Linked DNA regions of Homo sapiens: regions 2 and 3 are each linked to region 1. The links are contacts of gene promoters, found by promoter capture Hi-C in human tissues and cell types (Jung and others, 2019). All regions are on one chromosome and are shown on one strand. Each heading gives the region's core, a stretch centred on a gene start or on the middle of the fragment in contact. The rest is flanking DNA. Distances are from core to core; before and after follow the strand shown.

Region 1 (3,543 bases), core at 511-3,010:
GCCTCAGCCTCCCAAAGTGCTGGGATTATAGGCGTGAGCCACTGCGCCCGGCCCTAGAGAATTTCTTAAAGTAAAAGGCTGTACTGTTCCTATGGTAATTGAATTCTTATTTTAACTCATTTGAGAAAATAATCATAGAAGTTTAAATAAATTTGAACTCGACGTGAAAATTCTGAATACTTTTATTCAGTTGAGCCGCAATTCCTAAAGCCTGGAACGCGACTGCTCATCTCCGAAAAGACTTTCCAGCTTGAGACAGAGTAGAAGTATAAACTCTATATCGCTTGCCATTTTACATACAAACATAATTGTCGTAATTCATGTTTTTACTGTGTCGACCTAAATAACAGGCTGTCTAAAAACGGTGGTAACAGTTCATTGCAGTGGGAATATGCGCGGCATAGCAAACTATGTGCTTATTCAGGGAGGTAAAGGAAGACAAAGGTTGTTTTTGGTTTTCATTTTTTTGAGACGGGGGTCTCTGTTGCCCAGGCTGGAGTACAATGGTGAGATCACAGCTCACTGCAGCCTCAATCCCCACGGGCTCGAGCGATCCTCCTGCTTCAGCCTATCAAGTCGTTGGGACCATAGGCGCACACTCCTTTATTCCCAGCTAATTTTTGTATTTTTTGTATATATGGGGTTTTGCCATGTTGCCCAGACTGGGACAAAGGTTTATAAAGGAAAAAAAAAATTTTAAATGAGGATTACATCATTTTTCAGAAATAATTATCCTTGTCTACAAAGATCAGTAACAAGGGTCACACCAGTCTGAGTGTCCCTGTAAAAGTATTTTTTGTTTAAGCCTGTGGTTTTTGTAGAGTCTTTTTCGTTATTAAGCATATAAATGTGAGACCTCTCTCTTCATGACCTTACGTGGTTCTGTTTGTGGGAGGGCTGCTTTTTTTTTTTTTGAGACTCAGTTTCGCTCTTGTTGCCCAGGCTGGAGTGCAGTGTCCTGATCTTGGCTCACTGCAATCTCCGCCTCCTGGGTTCAAGCGATTCTCCTGCCTCAGCCTCCGGAGTAGCTGGGATTACAGGCGCCCGCCACCGTGCCCAGCTAATTTTTGTATTTTTAGGAGAGAAGTGGTTTTCGCCATTTTGGTCAGGCTGGACTTGAACTCCTGACCTCTGATGATCCGCCGGTCTCCGCCTCTCACGGTGCTGGGATTACCGGCGTGAACCACCGCGCCCGGCCGAGAGTTTTAAGAACACAGGGAGCGCCTGGTGGGGTCCGGCCTCCTGGGGCCTCGTCGTCTGGTCTCCAGATCTCCAGGTCTCTGGACCCCAGGCGTCCGCGCCCACGCGGGACAGCACGGTGACGTCACGCACGCGGGTCCCGCCCCCACGCAGGACTCCGCCCCATGGGACTCCGTGCCCTTCCTCTCCTCCCCGCACGAGGGGCCGCTCCGAGGGGAAACTGAGTCTGGAGTTGCCGTGCAGTCAGGGAGGAGGACGCCGCGCCCTCCCTGGACTGGAGTGAGTTCTCCCAGATCCGCGGCTGCCCGGCTAGAGGGTCAGCCACGCGTGTTCTCGACGAGCCCGTCACTGAGGAGAGAATTATCCAATCAGGACAGGCAGGGGCGGGGCCTAGGGAACTGTCCAATCAGAGACGTTAATCCGAAGCGGAGCCCTGCCCAATCAAGGGCGCTAGGGGGACGGACTGGAGAATTCTCCAATCAGGGGTGCGGAGTCGACAGCACTGTCCAATCAGAGTCTCCACTTCCCGAGATCTGTCCAATCAGACCCCGAGGACGGTAAGCCGAGTTCCCCTCTGCCTTGCGCGCTTCCCCGCCTACCCCGAGCGGCTCAGGTGTCCTGTCGTGCTCACCTGCGCCGGTCGCTGGACCGCGGGGCGCTAACCCTGGAGAGCCCAGGAGCGGGCGGGACATGGTGAGTGCCGGGCGGGAGCCGAGCCCGGGCCCAGGGCGAGGTGGGGCGGCAGGAACCGGCTTCCGCCCGAGTTCGCAGCCGGAGAAAGCTGAGGGACGCGCGGGGCGGCGCACGACGAGCGCCTGGGCCCCGGGGACGTGGTCACAGCGGCCGAGGGGTAGGGCTGGGGGCAGTCTGGGGTGACAGCAAAAGCGGTCAGGGGCTCGAGGGGTAGTTTCTGGGGACAGTACAGGTCAGGAGTTTGGGGAGAGCTTGTGGGGACAGCAGAGGTGGTCAGGGGCTTGAGGCAATTTAAGTGGACAGTAGAGGTTTAAGGGGCACAGGGGCAGTTTGCGGGAACAGACACGGTCAGGGGCTCGGCGGCAGTTTGGGGGTTCAGTGGAAGGGAGTCAGGCTCAAGGGCAGATTAGGGGGCCAATAGCAGCGGTCAGGAACTCGGGGACAGTTTGAGGGGGCCGTAGAGGCGGTCATGGGTTTGAAGGGGCAGTTTTGGGGGACAGGTGATCAGGGGCTCGAAGGCAGTTTAGGGGGACAGTAGCTGCAGTCGGGAGTTTGGGGGCAGCTCGAGGGGACAGCAGAAGCAGTCAGGGGCTCAGGGGCACTTTAAGGGGGGCAGTAGAGGCGATCAGGGGCTTGAGGGAAGTTTGGGGGGACAGTAAAGGGAGTCGGGCTCGAGGGATGTGTTGGGGGACAGTAGAGGCAGTCAGGGGATCGGGGAGAGTGGGAGGAGAGGGCAGGAGCCGTCAGGGGCTTGGTGGTCAGTTTGGGAAGGTCTGCCAAGGAGGAGGTGGTGCCCTGTCCTGGAGCCTGTCAAATAATAAAATCCTGGGCCGGGCGCGGTGGCTCACGCCTGTAATCCCAGCACTTTGGGAGGCCGAGGCGGGCGGATCACCTGAGGTCAGGAGTTCCAGACCAGCCTGGACAACATGGCGAAATCCCGTCTCTACTAAAAATACAAAAATTAGCCCGGCGTGGTGGCGGGCGCCTGCAATCCCAGCTACCAGGGAGGCTGAGACAGGAGAATGGCGTGAACCTGGGAGGTGGAGCTTGCAGTGAGCCGACATGGCGCCGCTGCACTCCAGCCTGGCGACAGAGAAAGACTCCGTCTCAAAAACAAAAACCAAAAAAAAAAAAAAAAAAAAAAATCCTGGCTAGAGAAGGAGAGAGAAAAATAGGGATAAGCCCCAGCCTCCGAAACCTGCCAGGTCTCAAAATCAACCAGGAAAAGGCTTTACTTTCATACACAAGAAAAGGTTTGGAGGAACGTTTTAGGGGACAAGCAGAAAGGAGGTTGACAGTAAATGTACCTCCTCGTGGTCAGCTAGCTCAGGGGAGGTGACAGGGGACTCCACACTTACTGCTTGCTCAGACTCGGGGGGGCCAAAGTTCAGGGGCCTGCGGAGAGGACAGAAGGCTGAGTAAAGTTTGGGGAAGAAACGGGAGGCTGCGAACATGTGGTCAAGCTTGTGTAAACCCAAACGTAGTAAGGAAACTTTTATGAAAAAGGATTATTGCGAGGTATTGGGGGAGGGGGAGAAGGGGCTGTTGCAATAGGGAGAAGGGTTAGTTGGATTAGAGGCAGGAGAGTAATGCCAGAGGCTTGAGGTTCTATTGCAGTGGGGTGGGGGTATAAGCAACAGGGGCATGGGG
Region 2 (3,543 bases), core at 340-2,839, 1.5 Mb before region 1:
GCAAGCTCAGAAATAAAGGCAACAGACAAGGCTGGGCGCGGTGGCTAACGCCTGTAATTCCAGCACTTTGGGAGGCCGAGGCAGACAGATCACCTGAGGTCAGGAGTTCGAGACCAGCCTGGCCAACGTGGCAAAACCCCATCTCTACTAAAAATACAAAAATTAGCCGAGCGTGGTGGCAGGTGCCTGTAATCCCACCTACTCAGGAGGCTGAGGCAGAAGAATCGCTTGAACCCAGGAGAAGGAGGTTGCAGTGAGCCGAGATTGCGCCACCATACTCCTGCCTGGGCAACAGGGTGAGACTCTGTCTTAAAAAAAAAAAAAAAAAAAAAGCGACAGCTGGCCTGGGCGACAGGGAGAGGATGGATTTGTAGCAAAGGAGAGAGGACCTGCCTGTCCAAAGGAGATGGAGTTCTTACAGGAATATAGATCCCTATTTGCTGGTCCTTCCAATTTCTCCAAGAGAAGCTGATATTAGGAATTTCATATGAATTTTTTTAGGTGTTTAAAAATGGACACAGACGGGCACAGTGGCTCATGCCTGTAATCCCAGCACTTTGGGAGGTCAAGGCGGGAGGATCACTTGAGCCCAGGAGTTCAAGACCAGCCTGGGCAATAAAGCAAGACCCTGTCTCTAAAAAAAGCTTTTAGTTAGTCGGGTGTTGTGGTGCACATCTGTAGTCCTAGCTACCCAGGAGTCTGGGGTGGGAGGAGCCCGGGAGGTTGAGGCTGCACTGAGCTGTCCAACCTGGGTGACAGAGTGAGACTGTCTAAAAAAAAAATAAAAAGATACTAAATTAATCAAATAAAACATGTCTCCAGGCTGGTTTCCTGTGCACCACTAATTTACATTCTGTCTAGCTCAACTCTGCTTTTTATTTTAATGTTATTTTTGAGATGGAGTCTTACTCCTGTCACAGAGGCTGGAGTGCAGCGAGTGCCACGATCTCGGCTCACTGCAACCTCTACCTCCCAAGTTCAAGCGATTCTCCTGCCTCAGCTTCTTGAGTAGCTGGGATTATAGGCGTGTGCCACCACACCTGGCTAATTTTTGTATTTTTAGTGGAGATAGGGGTTTCATCATGTTGGCCAGGCTGGTCTCGAACTCCTGACCTCAGGTGATCCACCCGCCTCGCCTCCCAAAGTGCTAGGAATTCAGGCGTGAGCCACCGCGCCCAGCCAACTCTGCTTTTTAGAATGTGGAGTGAAAGCTTAAGACAAAAGGGAAACTTGCTGGGGTTTTCTAGGACTTCTACCTTCTAGGGCACAATATTTTCTATCACCTACCTTCAAACTGAGCATGAGCTACTAGGAATTACCAATAGGATCCATGGTGTGACTCACCATCCACCTAAATGGTCCCAGGAAGGAAGACGAACAGGGAGTCTGGACTTTGGCCTAAGCTATCTCCCACCGGGGCAGGGAATCCTGAAAACCAAACTAGTAGAAGTGAAGAGCAATGGGAAGAGACGCTTAAGAGTGGGAAGAAATAGTTCTCCGGGTTCATTGCAGACTTGCAGTGTAAGACTGAAGTTGACTGAAAAACCAAAGGCCCATTTTCCTGGCAATGGTCTGAGGGGTCAACAAAATTATGTAAGTGATTTCTTTTTTTTTTTGAGACGGAGTCTCGCTCTGTCGCCCAGGCTGGAGTGCAGTGGCGCCATCTCGGATCACTGCAAGCTCCGCCTCCCGGGTTCAAGCGATTCTCCTGCCTCAGTCTGCCCAGTAGCTGGGACTATAGGTGCCCACCACCATGCCTGGGTAATTTTTTTGTATTTTTAGTAGAGATGGGGTTTCACCATGTTAGCCAGGATGGTCTCGATCTCCTGACCTCGTGATCCGCCCGCCTCGGCCTCCCAAAGTGCTGGGATTAAAGGCGTGAGCCACCGCGCCCGGCCAACAGTGATTTCTTTATCTGGGAAAGCTGAACCCCTGACTAGGACCTCTCACAGAATAAAAGCTTCAGATGAATGAGCTCAAGACAGCCTTTCCACCTGGGTCCCACTGAGTCCTTTCTGGACTAAACCTTTCTTTAGGGAAAGGCCGAGCCGTTGTGAGAAGGCTGCCCGTGTTGGCAGGAGCTCTTTCACCACCGAGATCAGGCCAGGGTGTTCAGTCTTTGCTGAGAATGTGGCAACAGAAATGCCAGCCCGAGGCAGCCTCACCAAATGCTGCAGAAAAAGCATCTGTCTCTCCAGCATCTACTCTGCCTGCCAAGGCTGTGTGCCTCTCCCCCACGCTGAGGGATTTAACTGCAGAATATGGGAGCCGCAGCTCTCCGGGGCTGCCCTTTGTGTTCAGAGATTATAATACGGAATGTGGTCTTGGGGTGGCGGGGAATTCAGTTCCTTAGTCTTGCCCATGCCTGAAGCTCAGCTGCAGAATCTCCTGCCTCTTACAATGCCCCCCCTCTGCTGTGAGTCCAGAGATAACAGACTTGATGTGACTGGCAAGAGCCCGCTCAGTAATATCCAACAACCAAAACAGAGCAATTACTGCTTAATTTAAAACTGGTATCTTTTTTGCTTTGCCAAACCCTCAGATGGACCTTGAAGTCTGACAGAACTTTATCTTCTTGAAATTTGACCCAAGTGTTTATAGATCTCACTCTCAAAATTCTATGCAACACTCCCACATTCTACCCAGCTGGAGCCCGGTCAGACAGCACCCTCAACTGCCAAAAACGTGATCCAGGATCCCAGAAGGAAGCCAAAACACAAAAACCGACAATCCCAAGGAGTCGCGACAGAGCTCACTATGTGTGGGCATGAAAATTCCTGCACCCTTTCTCAGATAATCCTCTCAGAGCCTATGGACTCTGATTTTATACTAAAGGGTATCTAATTTCTAAGCCCAGACCAGATAAGCCGCTAAAACCTGACAGCAGGGGAGCGGAGGCAGGGGGGAAAAGAGAAAACCTCCAATTGGCCCAAGCATGAGAGAGTGCAAGCTGGGAAAATAAGAACGCACGCATTGCCTTGAGCTACCAAGACCTCATTCTCCTTAACAGCCCAAGGCCACTTGTAGAAGGAAGCTCAAGGGAACAATCATTTTGTGAAAGCCAAGCACAGAAACAGCAGAACTGAGAAAACAGCTCTGTAACCTACAGCATGTCCACACCATGGGATATCACGCAGCTGTTAAAAAGAGCTCCATCTTTCCATCCCAATATAAAAAACATCTAAGACACCCTTGAGTAACAAAGACAGATATTTACAGTATATGTCATACACAAGGAAACAAAATGATACTGGGTGTTTCCTAGAGATCTCTCTGGATATACAGGACACAGAAAAACACAAGGTGATGATGATGATAATAATGGCAACCTCCTGGGAGAACAGAGGGCTTCAAGGTTTCCATTCTTTTTCCTTTTTGTTTTTTTTTTTTTTTGAGACGGTCTGGCTGTTGCCCAGGCTGGAGCACAGTGGTGCAATCATGACTCACCGCAACCTCTGCCTCCTTGGCTCAAGTGATCCTTCCACCTCAGCCTCCCAAGGAGCTGGGACTACAGGTGTGCACCCCCATGCCCCGCTATTTTTT
Region 3 (3,543 bases), core at 555-3,054, 1.1 Mb before region 1:
GGGCGACAGAGCAAGTCTGTCTAAAACAAAAAACAAAAAAACAAAACAAAAAAAAACGTCTGGGCATCATTTGCAGAAATCCAAACACAACAGTGGGATCTGGGAAGAATCGTGCTTCAGCGTGGCCTCCTGGTCCCGAGGCTGATGGCCGGTGGTTGAAGGAAGAAGGATTTCTATCCCAGGCAGGGTCCTTGGAGCAAAGTCCCTGGATGACACCCTCGCCCTAGATCCACGCGGCCCCTCCCTGGGTCCCTTCCCACCTACCCGGCTGGTTTCAGGCTGCGAGTCCTGAGACAGTCCACTTCCCCTCCGGGGGGCCCTCCCGGGTTTCCCCTCGTAGCCAGATTATTATTACAAAAGCCAATCCAACCCGTTTGGGTGTTGAAAGGCGCTTTTAATAAATTGTGCGAAGAAGCCATAAACTGTGTCTCTCGCAGGAGAGGCTTTGAAGTCAGAGGACAGGCTGGGTACACTACACCCAGGCCGGTGGTGGTTCCCGCTGTCAGGTGGTGTTGGTACTAAGAATGCCAGATAATAATAAAACATAATAATGACCCTGGGATTAGGTGTTAGAATGAAGGCACAGTGAGCCCCGGAACAGGGTCACCCACTGGATAAGCGCTCACTAAACGGCAGCTAAAGCAGCTGTCAGTACTCTCTCTGTCTGGAGGAATGAGGAAGGGGAAACTGAGTCCTGGAGCCCTCCCCCCCCCCCCCAGGCGCGCGGTCGCACCAGCCAGCCCTCCCCGGGCCGGGCCAGGACGTTCTCACCACTCGTGCCCTGCTCCCCCTTCCCTGTCCCCCGCCGGACCTCTCCCACGACCGGGGAGGAAGTGGGAGAAACGGACAGGGGAAAAAAAAAAGTCGCGCTGAACCAACGCCTCCCCACTCCCCACCTCCGCCCCTCGCGAGCCATGCAGACCCCCTTGTGCCAAGGAGCGGCCCGCGCGGACCAGGCGTCCAGGGCCCGGTCCCCGTCCCGCCCCGCGGCCCGCAGCCGGGTGGGGGAACTCGCGAAGCCGGGAAAACAACCGCCCTCCCCGCCCCTCGCCAACCCCTTCCCCCGCTGACGCCCCTAGCGCAGCGGGGTGGAGGCGACTCCTTTATATAATCGCGGGAGGGCAGGTTGGTGGTTTCATTTAGGGACCCGGGAGCCCCGCGGACCCGGGCTGTCCTTGGCAAGGCCACCCCCCGGGGTCCCTGGCGCGGCAAGTCCCACTGAGGCCCGGGGAGGCCCAGGGCCTGGCCTTGCGGGGGGATCCCCACCGCCTCACCCCCAACCCACCCCCGGCAGCCCAGGCCGCGCGACCCACACGCCCGCGTCGCTCCTCGCTGTGCGCACCGCGCTCCCCGCCCCCGCTGCCATCCTGCCACGCCCCGGGCGTCGGGGGCACAGCCCGCGCCCCCCCGCACCCCGCCCCTGCGCAGAGGCTGGGGGCCTGTTTATCTGGAGGCCCCCACCCCCCCTCCACCCCGGGGGGCCCGCTCCCCCCGCGCCCCGGGGAGCTCTGGGGCCAGATAAGCTGGCAAGCTGGCACGGCGCCGCGCGGCGGGGCGGAGAGGTCAGAGGCGGGGGGGCGCGCCGGGGCGGGCCGGACCCCCCCCCCCGACTTGACAAAACCTAATAACAGCCCGGTCTCCCCGGCGCAGCGGGCGAAGCCCCACGGGAGGGCAGAGACGTGGCAAGAGGGGACCTGCCGAGCCTGTTCTGGCCTCCGAGGCCAGGCTGGGGGGGGCGGGCTGGGCGTGGGGGGGCCGGCGGCTGCGGCACCTTTAAGACAAGGGAGGACCCCTCTTGCCCTCGGAGAAACCAGGAAGGGAGTCGCGAGCATCATACGGGGCTTTGGCTGTACTGTACAGTTACTGTAGGGGCAGTGACGCCGCCGCCGCCGCGCGAGGGAGCGACCAGGGCAGCGCGACGCGGGCAGAGCGAGCGCCGCGGACCCCGGAGGCGAGCGGCCGAGGGAGCCCAGTCCCAACTTCGGGCCCCGGCCCCGCGCGCCCCGGCCCGGCCCCGCGAGGTAAGTCAGCGCCCGGCGCGGCCCCCGGCACGGGGTGCAGGGCGGGGACGGGCGGGGGTCGCTGCGGCCACCGCTGCCCCCTCGGGAAGGGGAGATCCGGGGAGCCGGGGACGTTCCCCCAAGTTTCAGAGGAAGGGGTGGTTGGCAGCTGCCCGGAGGCTGGAGGCGCCCTGGATCCCGAGCGCGGGGAGGGGGCGCCGCCCGGGAAGGGGGGATTGGGGGCTAAGTGCATGAGCTTGTGCGCCAGCCCCCCCCAACCCGGGTGCATGGCTTTTCGGGGCTCCCAGGCGCGCGGGGAGCGGGGGAGGGGAAGCAGGGCTGCATTGAGGGTGGGGGGAGCCGGCGTGGGGAGATAGGGGGGCGCGTCGCCTGCTAAGTTTCCAGCTGAAGACGAGGGGCGCTCTCGCCCCCCGGGGGCCTATTCGGTGCTGCGTGCATACGTTGGAGTTGGCCAGGATTGAGCTCCATGGGGGATGGGGGGGAGGGGGCTGAAAAAACAGGGAGGGGGGCTTCGGAAAGGAGGGGGAAGGGGTGGGGTGTCCGGGTGGGCGGGCAGGGCCGCAGGGACCTCTGGGCTTCGTAGTCCCTCCGCCGTTTGCAGCCGGCAGGTGGCAAGCGGCTTGGACTACAAGTCCCAGGGTGCCCCGCGCCGACAGCCCGCCGCGGCCTGCGGGTAGGGGCGGTGCGGAGGAGGGGCGGTGAGCGGCGGGCCGGAGAGCCAATGGGCGCGGGCCGATCGCGCGGCGCGGCGCGGGGGCGGGGCCAGCCCGCCAGGGGGCGGGGCCTGGAGCCGGGCTCCCCTCGCCGGGGGCCGGTGGCGGTCCCGGCTTCCGGCTGCGCGGCCCGCGGGCCGGCCCCCTCCCCGCCCCGGGGCCCCTCCCCGCCTGGTTGTGTAACCGTCCCCAGCCCCCCTCCCCTCGGCCCCCCGCCCGTGGGGGGGGGGTCACCCTCCCCGCGCTCCCCGGGGAGGGCGGCGGCCCGGGCGGCCGCGCGGTGCAGGCGAGCCCGGGGATGCGCGGCCTAGCGCAGGCCGGGCCCGGGCGTGGGGGAGGCGGGCGGGCGGACCCAGATCCGGGGTAATTTGCATCGCCCTCCCCCCAGCCCGGGTGGGGATTGGCCGCCGGCGGCGGGGGGTGGCGCGGGGCCAGGCTCACTGCCGCCTCCCGGCCCCTCGGAGGGAGCCAGCCCAGCCGCAGCCGCCGCCACCGCCGCCGCCGGGGCCGGGCCCCCTCGCCGCTGCCCCGGGAAGGAGGTAGGAGCCCCCCGCGCGGGCGAGGCGGCGGGGGACCGCGGGCCGGGCGGGGGCCGCGCGCTGCGGCCGGGGCGGGGGAGGGGGCCGCTTCCTGCCCCCGCCCGGGCCTGACTCAGCCCCGGGTGGGGGGCCTGGCCTGGCCCCTCGCCCTGCCCGGACGGCCGTCCGGCTCCGACCCGCGGGAGGGGGCGGAGAGAGCACCCCAGTCCCCGCCGTCCGCGCCCCCAAAGCGCGTGACCCCGTCTCCTCTGGCCCGGACCCCCCCTCCTT

The links. Contacts are between HindIII fragments. The study calls those that stand out against the background at their distance.
Region 2: a contact is called between a fragment that was not itself captured here and the fragment with the promoter of ZNF77 in region 1, in 1 of the 25 tissues and cell types used here (dorsolateral prefrontal cortex).
Region 3: the fragment with the promoter of ZBTB7A here is called in contact with the fragment with the promoter of ZNF77 in region 1 in 1 of the 25 tissues and cell types used here (spleen).

The regions. Positions count from the first base shown.
Region 1 is chr19:2,943,188-2,946,730 of GRCh38, reverse strand. It overlaps ZNF77 (zinc finger protein 77), which reads left to right and starts at 1,760. Exons shown (of 4, transcript NM_021217.3): 1 at 1,760-1,893. The coding sequence starts at 1,891. RefSeq lists an enhancer at 1,365-1,524 and silencers at 1,595-1,844, 1,985-2,064. The HindIII fragment of the contact is 6,632 bases long and covers 1-3,543 here.
Region 2 is chr19:4,414,247-4,417,789 of GRCh38, reverse strand. All of the region lies in intron 3 of CHAF1A (chromatin assembly factor 1 subunit A), which reads right to left. Among named protein-coding and RNA genes, the nearest start is that of CHAF1A, 13 kb to the right of the region's middle. The HindIII fragment of the contact is 3,051 bases long and covers 64-3,114 here.
Region 3 is chr19:4,065,160-4,068,702 of GRCh38, reverse strand. ZBTB7A (zinc finger and BTB domain containing 7A) reads left to right here and starts at 1,804. Exons shown (of 3, transcript NM_015898.4): 1 at 1,804-2,021. RefSeq lists silencers at 954-1,283, 1,344-1,453, 1,664-1,723, 1,764-1,813, 1,824-2,023 and 3 more. The HindIII fragment of the contact is 23,363 bases long and covers 1-3,543 here.